Linked DNA regions of Homo sapiens: all the other regions are linked to region 5. Evidence: promoter capture Hi-C in 16 types of primary human blood cells and fetal thymus (Javierre and others, 2016). All regions are on one chromosome and are shown on one strand. Each heading gives the region's core, a stretch centred on a gene start or on the middle of the fragment in contact. The rest is flanking DNA. Distances are from core to core; before and after follow the strand shown. Region 1 has its middle 41 kb from the start of TMEM108. Region 2 holds the start of TF (transferrin). Region 3 has its middle 74 kb from the start of TMEM108. Region 4 has its middle 120 kb from the start of TMEM108. Region 5 holds the start of BFSP2 (beaded filament structural protein 2). Region 6 overlaps TMEM108 (transmembrane protein 108). Region 7 has its middle 140 kb from the start of TMEM108.

What was found. Contacts are between HindIII fragments. The CHiCAGO score rates a contact against its expected background, and 5 or more counts as called.
Region 1: a contact is called between a fragment that was not itself captured here and the fragment with the promoter of BFSP2 in region 5, in 1 of 17 cell types (megakaryocytes). The highest score is 7.1, in megakaryocytes.
Region 2: the fragment with the promoter of TF here is called in contact with the fragment with the promoter of BFSP2 in region 5 in 6 of 17 cell types (fetal thymus, naive CD8 T cells, neutrophils and 3 more); the score reaches 7.8 in fetal thymus.
Region 3: a fragment that was not itself captured here is called in contact with the fragment with the promoter of BFSP2 in region 5 in 1 of 17 cell types (erythroblasts); the score reaches 5.3 in erythroblasts.
Region 4: a contact is called between a fragment that was not itself captured here and the fragment with the promoter of BFSP2 in region 5, in 1 of 17 cell types (megakaryocytes). The highest score is 8.4, in megakaryocytes.
Region 6: a contact is called between a fragment that was not itself captured here and the fragment with the promoter of BFSP2 in region 5, in 1 of 17 cell types (megakaryocytes). The highest score is 5.1, in megakaryocytes.
Region 7: a fragment that was not itself captured here is called in contact with the fragment with the promoter of BFSP2 in region 5 in 1 of 17 cell types (megakaryocytes); the score reaches 5.3 in megakaryocytes.

Annotation. Positions count from the first base shown.
Region 1 is chr3:132,995,860-132,998,559 of GRCh38, reverse strand. No RefSeq gene overlaps it. Among named protein-coding and RNA genes, the nearest start is that of TMEM108, 41 kb to the left of the region's middle. The HindIII fragment of the contact is 1,249 bases long and covers 683-1,931 here.
Region 2 is chr3:133,745,104-133,747,803 of GRCh38, reverse strand. It overlaps TF (transferrin), which reads right to left and starts at 1,411. Exons shown (of 17, transcript NM_001063.4): 1 at 1,321-1,411. The coding sequence starts at 1,363. The HindIII fragment of the contact is 7,126 bases long and covers 1-2,041 here.
Region 3 is chr3:132,963,248-132,965,947 of GRCh38, reverse strand. No RefSeq gene overlaps it. Among named protein-coding and RNA genes, the nearest start is that of TMEM108, 74 kb to the left of the region's middle. The HindIII fragment of the contact is 3,583 bases long and covers 1-2,700 here.
Region 4 is chr3:132,920,996-132,923,695 of GRCh38, reverse strand. No RefSeq gene overlaps it. Among named protein-coding and RNA genes, the nearest start is that of TMEM108, 120 kb to the left of the region's middle. The HindIII fragment of the contact is 677 bases long and covers 1,109-1,785 here.
Region 5 is chr3:133,398,785-133,401,484 of GRCh38, reverse strand. BFSP2 (beaded filament structural protein 2) reads right to left here and starts at 1,429. Exons shown (of 7, transcript NM_003571.4): 1 at 913-1,429. The coding sequence starts at 1,401. The HindIII fragment of the contact is 8,153 bases long and covers 1-2,700 here.
Region 6 is chr3:133,061,207-133,063,906 of GRCh38, reverse strand. All of the region lies in intron 2 of TMEM108 (transmembrane protein 108), which reads right to left. Among named protein-coding and RNA genes, the nearest start is that of TMEM108, 24 kb to the right of the region's middle. The HindIII fragment of the contact is 418 bases long and covers 1,218-1,635 here.
Region 7 is chr3:132,899,911-132,902,610 of GRCh38, reverse strand. No RefSeq gene overlaps it. Among named protein-coding and RNA genes, the nearest start is that of TMEM108, 140 kb to the left of the region's middle. The HindIII fragment of the contact is 676 bases long and covers 954-1,629 here.

The sequences.
Region 1 (2,700 bases), core at 58-2,557, 400 kb after region 5:
ACAATAGACATCAACCAGACTGTCTTAAACTTTACTTTGAGCAAGTAAATATTTACTTCTTTTAATGTGAGATCTCCTTACTGCCTAGTACTTAGGTAAGCTGGACCAAAATTTAGCCGCAGGACCCTGGCTCCTAGTTGTGAATTATTGGAGCCTATACTTGGATAGAATAATGAAATGATGGTTATTGTGAGGGTATTGCAGAAGCACAGGCCAGTAACAGTTAAATCTTTGGAGACCTTTGATGGTCCTGAATCAAACACAGGTGTAGCCATTATTCAGAGACAAGCCAGCAAGAGGAAAGGAGATGCTGATATCAACAACTCATTTTAGCAGAGTGTATCAAGCCTGAAAAGATTTAGAAGGCTATTTTTAAAAGCCCTGCATTTTGTGCCTGATTTATAAGGCAGACACTAAAAATATTAATAAGTATAAATGGTGCTGATCCATGAACATGATGAGCTTTCAAGTTCTGGAGCCACAAGGTGACAGACTGCCATGAAGATGCTTGCATCTTCATAATATCCTGAAGGGATCCAACTTTAAAGAAGAAAACATTGGTATTTTAAATCCCAGTTTGGCATTTAACTGTGTTAAGTCATTCTGTTACATTGGCATCACTTAAATAGCCTTAAAAATAAAAAATAAAATAAACCAGATTGTACTACACATCATAGAAGCTTAATATAGATGCTTTAAACCCAAGGGAAATTATGTCCAATGCAAATTATTTTCCCGATATTGCCTTTCTAAGTTCCGTAATTGCAACTTGCATATAGCTATATTGAAACAGGTCACAGGTTGATATAAAAACAAAGATGACTATTATCAGGGCAAAGGGAAGAGATATGTCTGAAGTAGTGTATCTCTAGGGGTAAGTTAATCAAGGGAAACAAGAGTTGGCAGACAGAGTAGTTTCCAAACCAATTTGCCAACCTATTCTTGCCAGGAAAACCAGGTGCAGTCCTTAACCACATGATTTGGGTACACCATTATAATAATTAAAAATAGAAAGGCCTAAGCATGGTATAGCTACTTTGGAAGAAGTTTGGCAGTGTTTAATAAAGCTGAAGATACACATACATTAATGAACCAGTTTTTCCATTCTTAGGTACATACTTTACAGAAACACATACTTAAGTGCACCAAAAGACTTGTATAGGAATGTTCATTGAAGCATTCTTTGTAATAGCCTCTAACTGGAAACAACCCAATGTCCATGAACTGAACACTGGATAAACAAACTGTGATATAGTTTCACAATGGAATACCACACGATAATGAAAACTCACAAACTGCAGTTGAATCTTAAAGACATAATATTGAGTAAAAATGTTAAATTCAGACATGCCAGAGTATATTGCATGATTTCAAATAACATGAATTGAACTACATTGTTTAGTAATGCATACTTAGGTAGTGAAACAATAAAGACTAGCAAAGATGTGAATGGCATAACAGTAAGAATGGTACGTTTCCTCAAAGAAAGAAGAGCTTATGATAACGAGGGGCACAAAAGAGGCTTGTCTTGCTTGACCTGAATGGAGAACATGAATCCATTTTCCTACAATTTGTTAAGTTGTAAATTGATGTTTTATGCACATTTCAGTATATTTGTTAACATTTCAAAATTTTTTAAAAGGAGGAAAAATGGGAATAAGGTATTTTGGGTTTCTTGACAGAATTATTTTTGACTCACATATTGTCAAGGGAATTTAAGAATAAATTCATCATTGTTTATCTATGGGAGTGTGTTTTAAAGTTGTACCATTGCCTACTTTTTAAATCCTCCTTGAAATTATCTATTTACTCCTGTTATCTAAACCAAGTGATGCTTTTTTCAAACAAAGGTTAATAGGCAAGAATTAGAACATGAAAATCTTGTAAAAAATGAAGAGAAATATAATCTTTGAAGCCATCACTTGAAAGCTTTCTAAAGATTTACATATCTAGATTATAACAAGGACCAACCTGTGAGACTATGAACGCTCCTATGTGCTCTTTTCCTTTTAGATAGATTCATTTCAAATCACTTCCTCCATTACTATCGGAACTCCCTCTGATGGACACCAGCATGAAGACAGCAGGGGTCATTGATCTAGCCATAGGCCTGAGAGAGGAACACTCCTAGACCATCCAGGGCTGCCATCTTACTGAGTTTCCCCAGGCAGCCCTGATTCATGTTTCGATTTCCTCATTAGTAAATTAGGGTCATAACCTTCTTAACCTGCTTTGCTGCCTCAGCATATGGATTCATTATTCAAGGCCAAACAAAATTTTATTTCAGTTAAAAATGTCTACTGTTATGGGTAGATTTTAACACATTCTTGAGAGAAAGTTTTATTTTTCAGCTTGTGTGGTTTTGGCATCTTCACAGAAATTCATTCTTGTATTCATTTTTAAACATGACTTCACTAGCTGTCTCCCCTCTCCTTATGCGTAGATTTCAACACTATCAAGAGATAGTTTTGCTTTTTACCTTCTGCTGGTTTTTTTTCTTTTGGCATTTTCAAGGATTCTCATTTTTTAATACATTATTAAAGTGACTACATTAGCTGTCCCCTTTTCTTTATAAACACCCTGGAATTGCGAATTATATTTGGTGAGTCTGAGAGAGAGCAAGAGAGAAAGAGGGGAGGAGATAGATAGGACAAGCAGAGAGATGTGGATGGTTTTGTAAATGGATGTACTTTCAACTTG
Region 2 (2,700 bases), core at 162-2,661, 350 kb before region 5:
GAGGGTAAATTAACGAAAAGAATTAATTTGTCTGTAACTCTTGTCTGTTGCTCTCTGTTTAGGAAGAACTAAAAACTCCACAAATTCAACAGTCTCCCCTCTGTCTCCACTGAACTATCCCTCCATTTTCACCACACTTTTTGGCTGCCATTCACAAAAAAAGCTGAAGCCAGCCATGGGTAACTATTAAAATCCATGTGGTTGCAGAGACAGCATCCCTATCACATGAGCTTTTGCCCTGTCCCCAAGGCCCTCTGTCATCTCCACTCCTTGTGGGCCACCACAGCAAGGCTGACTCACTGGCTCTGAAGAAGATCCACAAAGCCTGTGGAGAGGAGGCCCACAGCTCTCCAGGATGCATGAGGAGGGGCCACCAGGGATGGCCACCCCAGCGACCCCCATTTTCCCTCTTGGCCCATGGGAAATCCTAGGAGGCAACATAAGCCTGTGGCAGCCCCTCCACAAAGCCCTGCCTCCAGAGTTCCCATAGGCGAGAATGTGTCCTCAGTGGAGCATTACCTTGCACAGCCTGTGAAGTGCTCTGTGCGGGGATAAAGGCAAGTAACGTGGGGTCCTCTCTCAAGGAATTGCTAGCTTATGGGGAGAGAAAACTAAACGTGGAAGCCCCAACAGTGTGACAAATGCCCCATGAATGGCAGGCAGAAGTTAGAGTATGAAGGGGGCCCCACCTCAGGAGGTCGGGGAGTGTGGCGTCAGCCACTGCCCCATAGCAGGATGTGTGCAACATCTGCCACTGGTACTCAGCATCTGCCACCTCGCTGACCCTCATTTGACCCTCCCAGGCAAGTGCTGTGATGACCCCCTCCCTGGTGAGGAGCCGGCCAGGACTTGGATCCAAGAAGTCTGGCTTCAAACCCCATGCTCTGACCGCTCGATGGCACCGCTTCCTTGGCAGGACATCTACAGCTCCCAGGGCACCCAGGGGACATCAGCCTCTGAAAGGGGAATGGTCAGACCCGGGAGGCCTTGAATGCCATGCTAAGGAGTTCGGACTTGACAAGAGGCAGCAGCAAAGGGTTTTGATAACCTGGTTAGACGTGCTCTGATTTATTGTATTTCACTGCTGCAAGATTTACTGGACAAAGAGGAGGAGGGGGAGAAGACAGTGAGTGCAGTGAAAGGTGTCTAGAAGCCCAAGCAAAGGCCAGGGGTGGGGCGTAGAGAGGCAATGGAAAGGCACCCAGACACCCAGGCTTCCAGCCTGAGCGCGGAGTGCATGCAGGCTGCGCGGTGGCCGCCCGGGTTGCAGGGAACGCGCGGGCCAGCGACTCTGCGGTGCTACCCCGTGCCCGCACTCACCCAGGACGGCGCAGACCAGCAGGGCTCCCACGGCGAGCCTCATCTTCCGGGTGCGGCGCTGAGCAGCGAGCACAGTCGGACTCGCTTCTGTGCAGCCTCCGGCGCCCCGCGTCCCTTTATTCCATTCCCGGCCTGGGCGGGCTGGGCGCAATCTTTGACCTCCCGTGTTTGTGCAGCCGGGTTGCCCAATCGCCCCTCTCCCAACCCCCCTTCCTTACTCGTCCCACTGATCACCTCATTTTCTGAGCTCTGGAGACGACCCGCGAGTGGAAGGAGTCCAGCACAGAAATGTTGATGGGAAGGGACATGAAGCACAATGCAGCCATTGTCATCGCGGCTCGCTCGGTGCCAGGAGCGGCTACGGCGGGCTGGGAGCCGGGGGGCTCTGCTCCTGACTCCAGGGCTGCAGAGCTGGTCCGTGCCACCAGTCCTATCTGCGCAGTCCACAGAGGAAGACTCCGAGGCTGGAGAGGGAAAAGAACTGCGCCCAGACCCCACACTAGAACTGCAGAATGACAGGCAAAGCCCCTTTTGGGGGAGGATGCAGGAGAAACAAGCTGGGCTCAAGGTCAAAGACAGACTCAGCACCTTTTGCTCCCCACCAGGTGTCCCTCGAAATCCTGCTCCTGGGCTCTCAAAGGTCCCCCACGGAGGAGCTGCTCCCTCTTCCTGCCCCGCTGAGCTCAGGCTCCTGGGCTGGAAAACTTCCCGCCCTCAAGCTTCCTGTGGGACACCTTAGACTAGGGACAGAGTCATAGGGGAAGATGAACTCCCTCCAACAAGAAGGTTCCAGGAACATGGTCAAGACACTGTGAGGCTCAGAACAAAGTGTCATCTTAGCACAAAGCAAGCGGCCCAGTGGACGGTGTGGCCTGTTCTTACAGCCTGGGGCCACCATGTCCCCCTCTAGTCGATGAGTCTCCTAACCAGTTTAATTACACATCCTTATCATGAAAAATATTGAACTTGTGCCTTCTATATGCTTATATTTTAACTAAAAAATGTGTACACTTCAATCATGCACAAGGAATAGAAATTTGTAAAAGGATGAGCTAAAGATGAAACTCATTTTCAAATGTCGTTTTGCTTATGCGGCCTTATACAGGATTATTATCTCAAGGCATAATATACTTGGGGAAAGGTCAAGATTCCTTCCACGAAGTGTAAATCCAGACTTCAGAGATTTTGCCAAAAGTTACTTCTTATCCAACCTGACCAGATGGTCATTCATTCTGTCTCATGTTTTAGTTGACCAAGCTCATATCAAGCCTAGTGGACACGTCAGGTCAGTCATTTGATTTTTGTTCACTTGTTTTTGTGTTGTCAGAATTGTCTCCTAATTCTAGTTTCTTTGTAAGAATCTTTTTAAGGCATGTGTGC
Region 3 (2,700 bases), core at 93-2,592, 440 kb after region 5:
GAGTCTAGAGGTTGAGCTCACCTTCATTCTGGTTACATCCAGAATTCAAATGGTGCCACAGGGTGCCAGTTGTCTAAAAATTGGCCTAGTAAATTTTATAATTATGGTTTATGAATGTATGAGGGAGTTAAACTCAGAGTCAATAAGTCAGGATTCAAATTCCAACTTTACTACTCGTCAATGTGTGAATCTGGAGGAATGAATCTCTGTCTTTGAGAACTTGGAGGAAAGTTCCCTACCTGGGTCCTGAGATCCACACCATCATATGGTCATTTTTTCCCTCCTCGGACAGGAGATAAATTAGCAGACTGTGACTGTCATCTAGGAAGGACATGTAGATCCATGTATGTGCTTGTTCCCACAAGATAGGCTACATATCTGCTGAAAGAAAGAACACTAAGTATCATCTATAAATCTCCAATGAAATGGCCTTTTTTTGTTTAGATATCATGCTTTCCTGCTCTTTATGTTTCTATGCAAGAACAGGAAGAAACCCACCCTTCCATGTCCTGAGGGACTTAAGAGAGTAGTGACTGGATGTCCCCAGGGATTCAACGTGTCTGTTCCTAGTGAAGCAAGGAAAGGGATGGGGGCTTTCACTTCTTAGGAGGGGTCTGGCCAGATACATACTGACAATAGTCCTGTCACACTGTCCCCCATGCCCCTCCTTGTCTTTGAGGAGAAACACAGGTCTGCAGTTAAAAACTGTTTAGATAATTGGAAAAAGCCACACACAGACAAACTTGGAAGCTATGTGGGTGATTTCTGGCCATTTGACAGGAAAACCTATTGATCAATCTCTATCCTTATCTTTTGGGTCCTGAAATTTATGTTGTTAGCATAAAGAATCTGGAGGGAAGAGTTGTGTCAAGACCAGCAGGCCCAAATTAACTACTCTAATATTTGGTTTCTGGTCTACAAATAACACCAGTTTATTGCAGAGGTGACACATGTAATATATGGCAAGCTCTTTGTAGACTGTTAAAGGCTATACAATGTGAAAAATTGCTATTGTGCTTGATTAAAAGGTATTGTACCTAGAAGGTGACATTTTGTTTTTCTAATAATCAGTTTCCAAATTATCTCTAAAGAGAAAAATAAATGAGTCTATAAATATATATCCTAACGTAATATGTGTGTTTGTGTATATGTACACAAACATTCACTTAGACTCTTATTTTCTACCATAGAATGATGTGCTGAAGTGGTTTTGTGTGAATTCTAACAATAAAGTTTTTTTTTAAAAGCATGATTCCATTGTGTTGTATGCAGTCCTGACAATGGGTATAGAGGCCAGCACAGAAATTCAACAACATTTATCCACAAAGCATGCCAAAAATCAATTTGGAGGATGGGTAAGAAATCATAAAGGGCAAAAGGAAACTGCACGCTTGCACACATTAGGAGTGTTGTCAATGTTAGATCTCTGCCACCCAGCTGATCTCGCACATCTGCTATCTTCCTTTTTTTGGTGCTGAGTAACAGGATGTTTAACTTCCTAGCAACAATCTTGCCCTGGCCAGGCATATGGGAGACAAATCATTCTGAGTGTGTAGGTTAGAGAGAGCAAATGCCCCTCTGTTAATAGGCTTCCAAATCTGTAAGGTTAATAAGTGTATGGCTTTCTTTAAGAAAGTGTTTTACAAAGATAAAATCATCGACACCTTTAGTAATGCATGCATCTGGGTCAAAACTGACAATGGGACTGGAAAGGCACTCACTCCCTAATTATCAACTAAATGATTTTTTTTTTTTTAAGTTTGGGAGACTAGTTGTGAGATGTAAGTGGCAGAAGAGGTCTCAAAGGTTGTCTTGTCCAACTCCGTCATTGAACTCCAGAAAGGAAAAACAACATACCCTAGTTCACATAGCTAGTGACTGAGCTTTTTCCAGAACCAGAGGCTTTTGTCCCCTTAATTGGTGACCTATTTACCTCAAAGCAGCCTGTCTAATACCAGCAAGTGATGAACATCCAAGCCTTTATCTTTTGCCTTGTGGGTTTTCTCTGCTGGATTTTGATGTCCTCCCTGGCACCCTTCTGGCCACAGGCCCACAATGTTATTCTTACATGTGTTCAGATAAGCATGATCGTTTTAATACAAACATCAGCACATGTAGCAATTTTAAAGCTGATTTGACTAATTTATGTCATTGTTCCACTTCATTAAAGTGAAATCACCAGAAGTGAATACCTAGGCACTTATGCACACTTGTTGCAATGAATCCTCTTGACAGTTATCCTCTGACCCATGGAACTGGAGAGAATGTTCATTGCAGCACACTTACTCCAAGAGTTTTGTGCATTTTCCCCTGTTTAATACTTAGCCAAATATCTTATTAATTTGTGTCTTTTCTGAGTGTTTTATCCTTTAGTTTTATTTTTGGGTCTTTCCCTTGCCATGGGCTGGTCACCAAGGCAGCCGGTATGTCTAGTAGGTGGAGGGAACAGATTGTGAAGGAGTGAGTAGAGGGACCTTTGGAGAGAAACAGTATTGTTTCCAGGATTGAATCTAAGGCATGCGGCTTAATTTATAAATTGTCTTTTTATTTGTTATCTACCTAAAGGAATATGTTGTACATGTAGGACACATTGTATGTTTTCAAGATTCCTTGAATCAAAGAATGAAAAAAAATAGGCATACCTCTTTTTACTGCACTTCACTTTATTGTGCTTTGCAGATACTGCATTGTTTGCAAATT
Region 4 (2,700 bases), core at 198-2,697, 480 kb after region 5:
CAGACCCACTGAATCAGAATCTGCACTTTAAGAAGATCCTTGAGTAATTCATAGGCACATATATAATAATGCTGGATGCACTGCCCAGTTTCTCCTTCAGAACTGAGAAACTAAATCTCCTAGTGGCTGCTCTTTTCTAGAAAGTACACTTGTCTGGAGAGAGCCGCTTCACCAAAGTCATGTCCCCTTCTCCAAGGGCAGTATTCATCACATGACTGTCTACGTAGAAGTCCTAGTCCCCTCACCCTACCTGGAACTACTCTGAAGGGTCACTTCAGCTTCAGAATTCCCAGGGTATTGATGAAGGATATTGTTATTACTGCATTCAGTGTAAGTTCTCTTCCTGTTCAATGCCACTTCTTTCTCTTCCCTTCTACACATGTTTATCCTGAGAGACCTTCTAAGGAAACTCTACACACTAATATCCATCTCTCGATGTGTTTGCTGGAGAACCCAATCTGCACCAACACTGACATTTGAAAAATCTGAGCCTTCGTCAGGTAAATTAACCTCTGGCTTTTTAGTTTTCTCATTTATAAAATGAAAATAGTAATAGTATACTCCTTACGGTTTGTTGAGGATTAAATTACTAATATTTAAAAGTACTTAGAGCAGTGACTGTTTCGTGCAGTACCCAAAAAGTGTTAGTCATCATTATGTAGTGGGTCTGTAGACATAAAGTTATATTAATATCTGTCATGATCATATTCCTTGTTCCAAAAACACTATTATTCATATGCAAAACCTAGGTTAATTGGGGAATTATCTATTTACTTATGTATTCAGGCACTTTGCATGGGCCGATGGGAAGGAAGTGCAGGTACACATATACTAACGTTATCTGAGTTAGGGTAGAGAATATTAAGCTGATAAAAGCCAGTGGGTTACACTGTCTTCAGTACATAGTGACATTCTTATTTCCTCTTAAACAGAGAACAGTATAAAACAGAGAAGAGCTCTACAATGTGAATCGAAAAGACAGTGATACATGAAAGCATTAGAATCAAATAATTTCAGGACAGAAAGGGATCTTACCCATCTAGCCCAACTATTCATACAGGAATAAATAAATCTAGCTGCCACATCTAATATATATATATTTAAAGCTTATCTTGTTTCTCCTTTCTGCAGGTTTAATAGTGAATGTTACCATTCTGTCTTTCCAGAAACCTAACACATATATATGCATGTATACATACACACACACACACACACACACACACAAAACAAACAAACAAACAAAGAAACAAAACCCATACACTCACAGTCTTGGAATTAATGCCCTGGGCCCTTGGTTTTCTACTGATTTTGGCTCCATTTATGTTTAGCTGAATGAACCAGCACTATCTTCTGGATGGTACTCCTTTTCTTCGGTCTCCACTGGGCTCTGTAAGGTCACATTTTTAATGCACACATCACTACAGCTCAAGTCCTCAACTCAGTGATGTTATACATCTAGTCTTTGTCAGATTCCCCTTCCTGGGTACTTTTGGGAATTCTCAGGAATTACACTGGCCAGCCATCTGGATGTGAACTGCTGTCTGCTCTTCACATATATCTCTGTCCATCCCTTTGTGGGTCACATTTTGTGGGCATTCCTCTTTCTGCGCTCCTCTATACTTCCTCCCTGCAAGTGCAAGGGAAGGTGGCAATATCCTTCTCTCAATTCTTTCCACAGATGACAGCATCTTGATGGCAACCTTTAACCAGACCTTACAGAAAGCATGGAGATGACAGAAGTAATTTAGTTATCCAAGTTATCTTTGCTGTGTAACAATAGAAGCTTAAAAAAACAACCAGCACTTATTATAAATCACACTTTTTTTGGATTCCTTTGCATCATGGTGTCAGCTGGGGCTGCAGTCATGTAGGGGCCCAACTGAGCTGGAATTTCCAATGATACGAAACAATACAAAGCAAAGTTCGCAATAAAGTTAATTCTACAATTTCTATAAACAGAGAGGCATGAGACCCAGGTCTTAGTGTTCAAAAGTTGGATTTTCACACTCACTTGGGACAGGAGATGTGACTGGGCTCTGGATGAGGTGGGGAGTTAGGACTGCATATATCTCTATATAAGGGGATCTATAAATACTATGCTCTTCAGCCCAGGTAAACCTGCTGTCTACCTGTGTTTTAGGGTAAAATTATTGTTTTGCTTGAGCAATCAAAATCACACGTCTATGCTAAACAATAGTTAGAGAAAGTAAATATATACTTCTCGTGAAGTGTAGAAGTCCCAAGTACAGAAATTAACGTAAAATATGTTTTGGGGCCAGTGAAATCTGTGTCCTTCTCTAGCAGAAACAGATGCAGAAAAGAACTATTTTATATAGACATTTAATGAACCTAGGATATTAAGAAATTTCACGGAGGATGGGTACATAAAATGGTTCAAAATAAACAATTATTAATCTACAAGAGATGATTATCTGCCAGAGTCTCTATCATAGTAGACGTACCATGCCATTTCTCCATCATAGTAGAAGCCACAGAGAGAATTCACTCCCCATGAACTCAAATAATTGCAAGCTAAAAGAGACTATAGAAAAAGTATTCTTGAAATGATTCAATAAGACAAAATTTTAACATATAACATGACATGACCCAAGGATAAAAATAAGAGGTCAACTTGAAAATAAAACAGAATTGACAGAAATGAAAAATGGAATCATCGAAATGAAATATATATTAGATAAG
Region 5 (2,700 bases), core at 180-2,679:
GATGAAACCTCTGCATCCTTCCCTGTCCAATAAGATAGCCATTAGCTACCTGTGGCTGTTTACATTTAAATTAATGAAAATTAGATAAAATAAAAATGCAATTCCTCAGTCTCATTAGCCACATTTCAAGTGCTTGATAGCCATATATGGCTAGTGGCTGCCAGATTGGACAGTGCAGATATAAGATATTAATATTTCCATCACGCAGAAAGCTCTACTTGAATGTAAATTACCTCATTAATATATTTTGTATTGATTACATGTTGAAATAACATTCTGGACATATAGAGTTAAATAAGCTATAATATTAACTTCACCTGCTTCTTTTTACGTGTTTTACTGTGGGTAATAGAAACTTGTCAATTACCAATGTAGTTCATATTTCTATTGAACAGCGTGGTTGTAGGTGGATACAGGAACACACCTCCATTTATTCATTGTTCTTAACACCTCATCCATCCAATGGTATTTGATTGGATAATAGCTGTAAAAATCCCTTCTCAACAGTAAAGGTGACTGAGGCAGCCCCAGGGTAATGGGGCAAATGCAACTTTGGAGGCACAAAAATTCAGGTTCAAATCTCATCTCCATCCCTCTACTAGCTTTGAAGTCTTGGGCAAATTACATGCCTCAGTTTCTCATCTGAAAAATGCAATCAGTGAATGATCCACTGCATAGCATTTCTTTGAAGTTTAAAGAAGACAGTGGGTAGTGCACGTATGGGGGCTAGCGTGGGCTCCTAGTAAACCTCGGTAAAAGGTAGCATTGTTGTTATCATTACCATTTTAAGTGTGAAAGTGTAGGGGATTATGGTCAGTTTCTCTGGCCTCAGCCTACTCACAACCCTACCCGCTGCCTTCAGCAGCCCCTCCCAGCCCTCTGCAAAGCCCTTGGCACAGCCTGGACACTTACCTGCTGGCAGCTGCTGGCCCAGGAAGCCCGTAGGGCACCCCAGTTTCCCGAGCGTGTGGCTTTGCTCTCCAGGTGCATCCGCAGTTGTGTTTCCAGCTCCTGACTGACTTGCTCAAGGGCGTGCACTTTGGCCATATATTCCACCAGGCAGCCCCCTAGGTCCTCAACAGCACCATGGTCCCTCTCCAAACCTGGAGCCGGCACGGTGGCCAGGCCTGAGCTCCGCAGGCCCTGAAGGAAGACACTGCTGATGCCGAGGGCCCGGCGGGTCACACGGGCACCCAAGCCACCTATGCACCCACTGGGTGCTGTTCCTACATAGACCCCGGGTGCTCGGACAAGGCCACTCATGGCATTGGTCCTGGAGGCTGGGGGGCTCTCCAGGGAGGATGATGACCGTGGCCCCCTGAAGGACGCCCTGCGCCTCTGGAGGGGCATGCTGGAGCTGGCACTGGTGGGCAAGTCCACTACCACTCGCCTCTCACTCATCACCCCTTCTGCCTCTGTGGTGCCCAGTGGGTTTACAGAGTCCAGTGGCTTTTGGTTTACAGCCCCAGCATCCCTGTGGCCTGGTCACGGGCCTCTCTGGAATCTCCCCTATCCCTGGGGCTGCTTTGTCTGCTGTCTTCCATGAGTTTCCATCATTCACTGAGCTGAAAGAGAAATGGGCACTGCCCAGGGCTGTGTGCAGAGAGGCACTCATGCATTCTTTGATGCAGGGTCATGTGCCCAACCTCCCAGATTATTCTGCTGGTGGTGGGGGAGGCTGGATCAGTGCAGGCTGTGGAGGTAGACCATTTGGGTTTGTGCATTTTACTACCTAAGTGGGCAAGGCAGGCATCAAGCAACCCCATTTTACAGATGAGTAAACTGAGGCTCAAGGACCTCAGATGACAAGTGTACTGATCACTTGCCCCAGACCTCAGATTACAAGCTAGGACTCAATCTAGCTATTTCAGGGCTTTCTACATCCCTATGTGTGCTGGCACATGTGAATGTGAACACATGTCCACACAGGCAATAGAGGATGAAAAATGGCAGGAGGCAGCTCCAGGGACCCAAGAGAAAAGACTTGCCTATGGTTTCCTCTCTCAGTCCTGGCAGCAGCTTCAGGTCCTTCCCTCACCTCTCTCCTTTCCTCCTCATCTCTGTCCTCTAATGCTCTGCTGTTCATCAGCTGCTTGCTGTTGGCCAGGATGCTTCCTCCCTCTGGACCTCACTGTCTGAACATTGGCTTGGGCCTTTAACTCTCTGATGCACCAGATAAGGACCTTGGGCAAATTCAGATCCCACACATGTTCCGGCCATTCCCTACACCTCTGCTTCTCCATCTGTTGGAAAACTGAGAAATAAAAACAACAACGAGGGTGTTTTCTGGTAAGCCTCTCCAAGGGTGCCCCAAGTTAGGATATGATGACACCCCTGGGTTTTAATTATTGACCTTGGCATCCACTAAGCCACCAAGGGTCACACCTCAATCACTTCTCTAGGATCAGAAAGGTTCCCCCAGTTACAGGATGACAACATGGACCTAAAAACCTCTGTACATAAGTTTTACCCTGGAGAAACCAGGTCACCAAACCCCAGAGCTGGATACTTTTCCAGATGCTGTAATGTAGGAATGTACCTCAGGTGAGAGAAGGAGAAGGGAGTCAATCTCTAGTGAGTAGCAGATCCAGCCTGGTGTGTGCATGAATCCTATGGTTTATTTCGTGGAATTCTCAACTCAACCTCAGGAGGAAGGAGGTCCAGGGTTGACAGGTACTGCCATATGGGCTGTGTACCTCA
Region 6 (2,700 bases), core at 177-2,676, 340 kb after region 5:
TCCATGACCTCTACTGTTCATTATACTTCCCTGGACAGGGGTAATGAATGCTTGGTCTCAAGGCAGCCCCTCCTCTGGCTGGGGTTAAATGGGGGCCCTATGTGCTCTGTATAAGACCACCCCCTCAAGCAGGAGTCCAGCGGGAGACCCAAAACCCTGGGTGCTGTCCTTTCTCCCATTCCAGTCTATAAATCAATAGCCTTGGGAATATCAGGACTAACTTAATCATATCTTTTATCCCTGTTAAGAATACAAGGAGAAGCCCTCAAGGACTCACAAGTCATTTCTCAACCTTACACTTTTACCACCATATGGCTCTTTCCATTCCTCTTCCTGACCCTATCACCCACCATTCCCAATGCTTGAAACCCTTTCCCTGTGCTGTCTGGAACTTATAGTCATTAGCAAGATCCCACTGCTCACTCCACCTCTAGCCCCCCTATGTGGTGACTATTTTCTCCCCACATTCCCTGAACTTCAAGGCTTAGAGGTAGAGTGGGTTATCTTTATCACATCTATACCACTGTCCCTCCTTTCTTCTGTAAAATCCTGACCTTTGATTCACACAAAATCAGACTATATTGCCCACTCTCCCTCATTCTGGGAAGATCTGGGTTCCTGGTTCCCTGTCACTCTTCATCACTCCTGTGGCCATGACTCTAAGTGAATTCAGTAGCCACAGAGATGATCATTCCAATACCCTGGCTTTTCAGTCCCTGTTCTCTGCCCTAACTCCAAGGTCACACACCACTTCTTAGCTGAAATTCCTCCATGTTGCTCTCCCACCACCAACATCTCCTGTCAGTTTCCCATCTCTGATACCACAACTTCAGCAAGTCTCTGACCCCAGGGAGACCTCCAACCCATTGGATACTACAGCTTTTCACTGTCCCTCACCCTCCTCATGTCCAAATTCACCTCCTTAGCCAATTTAAATTCCACAGTCAATTGTCATAACCACTCCCTTCCATACATGCTGAACTCTATCCCCACTCTAGTGTGGACCTGCTCACTCGGCAAAAACATGGCCTCGTTCACTTCAACACTCCACTCATACACATGAAGGCCCAGAGGGAGAAAAACACATAACACCTTTGAATGATCTCACTCGAAAGCCACAATATGGAACCTCACATTGCTTAGGTGATTGGCAAAAGTCCTCAGAAGTGTTGTCTCCAAACCTTCTCCTTCCATTCTCACTTGAATCCACAGAAGCTTGATAAATCTTTGTGGAAATGAACTGACATTAAGTAACATCACCAGATTTTAGACTAAAACAAATTTAATTATGTGTAAATACATTTTATATGAGATTTACTTCAGATTTCAAAGGCAGTTTGTGTCCTGGGTTAGAATGTTTCCAGAGATTCCTCTTAGCACAAATTCTTATGGTAAGACTATAAAAGAGGAGAATGTGTGGCAGAGAACATTAAAGATTCAAGGTCACTAACCAAATTCCTTTAAATCTATCCTGATTCTTCAGACCACAGGCTCATATCCTACTGGCTCCAAAGACTGTTCTACTGGTCCATTAGCTAGAGACAGATGTTTTTATTCTCTGAGCCTAAAGAAAATTACAATAAAGATGAGACGTTAATAGAAAATTAATAAAATTATCAAAAACTCTAAAAAGCTTTCCTAGCTATTGTTTATCCATTGGGTTAACAGGTTATGATTTTCCAATGTCAAAAACTAATATGATGCTGCTAAAGGAACATCAGAAAAGAAAAACTGGATGAAGGAATGACTAAGCATTGATTTTACTTGCAAAGCTAATTAGTGACCTTTTCTCCTAGAAAATGCATTCTTGGACTTTCTCTCCAACACTGCCATCCAGAAGACTCACCATCCATGCTATCAGATTTAAATTGCACGTTTTTAGGATACCTAATTAATTGCCAATGAAGGAAATTACTAGTTCCTTTTGAAAAATACATGCCCCAACTGGTAGCAACACTCAGTTAAATGGTACTGGAGGTCTACACATTATGCCCAAACCCCTTCCCTTGAACGCAAAGCAATCACTAATATTCCTTTCATATTTGGGTAAATCCTCAAGGTAAAGTGATAAATCTGAATCCACATGCCATTATAAAATTTCTCCTTGGTGGGTACTTACATATTCCACACACCAGTGCAGTATGCCTACTTAGTAACATATAGCCTTGAAATTATTCTAAACTTTAAATTCCTAGGGAACAAGGACACCTCTCTGTATTCATATCCCCTAGTTTTATAGGGCATATACAGTTAATAAATGCTCTATGAAAGCAATGTCCAATCCTCTGTACCCATTTAATACTCTGACTTAATTAGACGATGCTGCAAGCACTTGGTCAGTAGGGCAATGCATGTTTTAAATATTGTTGTGACTTTTAAGAATGAGACATGCCCGGCTGGGCACGATGGCTCATGCCTGTAATCCCAGCACTTTGGGAGGCCGAGGCGGGAGGATCACGAGGTCAGGAGATGGAGACCATCTTGGCTAACACGGTGAAACCCCATCTCTACTAAAAATACAAAAAAAATTTAGCTGGGTGTGGTGGCGGGCGCCTGTAGTCCCAGCTGCTTGGGAGGCTGAGGTGGAGAATGGCGTGAACCCGGGATGCGGAGCTTGCAGTGAGCAGAGATCGTGCCACTGCACTCCAGCCTGGGCGACAGAGTGAGACTCTGTCTCAAAAAAAAAAAAAAAAAGGAGAC
Region 7 (2,700 bases), core at 42-2,541, 500 kb after region 5:
AGGCTCATCAAGGGCCTTGGTAGAACTTAGGTATCACTGCTGGTTATTCAGGGTCCAAGGGATCTTCAGTTAGCAGGTGATGAATTCTGGTAGGTCTGAGTCCTTTCCTTCAAGGCAGTGGGTTCCTTTCTGGTCCAGGGTGTGTCTAGAAATGTCATCTGGGAGCTAAGGCCTGGAATGGGGGCCTCATGACTCTGACCATTGCCCTGTCTTGCTGTAGCTTAGCTGGTATCCAAGATGCAAGACAAAGTCCTCCTCACTTTTCCCCATCCTCTCCTCAAGTGGAAAGAAGGGGTCTCTTTGGAGCCGCCAGCTGTGCAGCCTGGGGTTAGGGGAGGGGTGGTGCCAGCACTCCCTTGGCTGCCCCAGCTTGTGTCTTGGTATGTTGTATGCCTCCCTAGTCCACTGTCTCTGGGCCTAGTTCAGCACTAGGTCTTGCCTAAGAGTTGCTGTGTTTATGGCCTAGACTGCCTTTCAAATTTATTTGGAGTCACGGAGTACTATAGCCCTCAGTGGTGAGGTTTGCAGGCACTTGAGTTCTGACAGCTGGGATCTGCGATTCCCCTCTGGCTAGGGTTGATTTAAATGCCTCCTCTGTGGATGGGCATCAGCTGAGTTTGGTCCAGTTTTTCTTTCTGCTCTGAGAGGACAGCACTGGGCTCAATAACTCACAATTGATGTGTTCTCCCTTCCCCAGTGCCCAGAGATGCTCTTCGCACCATCCTGCTGCTGCTGGGGGTAGAGGAGGGGGGCACTGGTGATTCAAGCCTGTTTTTCCTACATCTTCAGTGTCTCTTTCAGTGATACAAAGTTAAAACCGGGTACTATGTGTGCTTACCTGATTTTTAGTTCTTATGAAGTTGTTTTTTTCAGTGTGGACGGTTGTTAACTTGGTGTCCTTGCAAGGGAGAGCTTTCTATTCCACCATCTTGCTCTATCCAAAAAAAGAAGCTTCTCTTTTATAGACTGAATTTGTATGAAGAGCTTAGAGTCACAGAATTGACTTAGTTGCTTCTTAGCAATTCCTTGCCTTCTCTTGAATATGCAGGCACTTGTCAACCATTGAGGCAGAGACAAAGTCCCACCTGACATGTTATGCCTGTTTGTCTTCCCTTGAGGACTGATCCTGTAGCTTTCTCACCCTCGTATTCCTAATGTGTAGCAGAGAGTCAAGTGGTAATGAATTTCAAAGATTAATAACTAATTACTATACAACATGATACATTTATAATAGTCATAAAGCAATATGCTTTGATACACAAGGAGGGAATGGTCAAATCCACCATTAGGAAAGACTCAGAAATGTAAACTCTTCCCTAAAAATACATGTCCTGAATTACCAATTAGTCTTTAGGAAAAGGCATTAAGTTTTCTTCTCTATTTTTGACTTGTTTTTAAAATTCTTCTGTAAAGGAACATACAGAATCAAAATAACAAAATGATGTGTTTTGAAAATTCTCTACCATCTTTTTAAAACCTCAAAATTCATAAAAATACTCATATCGGGCTACTCTGAATTTAGGATTTAAAACAGGAACAGTTTTAGCTTTAAGTAAATAATTATAAAAGTTAATTTCTAAAAGTATTGTCTAGGGTTTCTCCTGGTTCTGGTTGAAAGTAACAGAAGCTTGATGGATTTAACTTTGGCTGAAAACTGAGTTCATTATAAAGATGACAGTGGCCACCAGGAAACCCAAAGGCAAAATGTAGCTGGATTCAGGATCAAATTAGGACCAGAGACTATCCTAGAATGCCTGATAGAGCCTTGAAATTCTTTACCATTCTGTTTCCAAGCTTCTTCTGTTTTGTAACACCATAGTTTAACAGCCACTGCTAATGATGTCTAAGTTGGCATGTTACTAGTTTCACCACCCTTAATCTTGCTTGCTCTTAGTCTCAGCTCCAACTTCCTGTTTAGATCAGGTGCCCCAATCTAATCAGCCTTGGCTGTGCCACTATGTTCATTATACAGGAGGCAGTTCTCAGAAGTGGGGATGGGAGATTGGACTTCTAACCTAATTGATATCCAGGACAGATATTTCAAAGGCTTGGTTCTTTATCTCAAGAAAACTTTCAACTCAGGGCCTTGGCAATTGATTTACCTATTGAGAACAGGCATTACCCACTGTATTACTCTGAAATAATTTATATTCTCTTCAAAGATGGGAATATTCTTGCTCTTTAACAGGAAAGCTTCATTGTTAGAACTTCCTTGTTATTTACACCAAGAGTTTCAGTCCACGGTTGCTGTTCTATTTGAAATTAGAGAAGGAAAACAACACAGCATCTCCAAATATAAATGAACTTAAAATCAAATTTGAAATTCAACCAGACTCCAAATTTACTGAGCTTCTTTCCTGAAGATAACTTGCAGGGGGGCCCAGCAGGATTATAATCAGAAATTACATTTGACCTAGAAAAAGTGAAATTATGTATTCTTTTTCACTTGAGAATACATATATCAAGTATATATATATATATAATTATAATAATATATAATATATACACACATAAATGTATGTATACTACACACATATGTATATATTATCAAGTACGTATATAAATACATATTCATATATTTGATGAAAATATAAACTTGTGTATTAGCCCATTCTCACGCTGCTATAAAGAAACACCTGAGACTTGATAATTTATAAGGAAAAGAGGTTTAATTGACTCACAGTTCCACACGACTTGGGA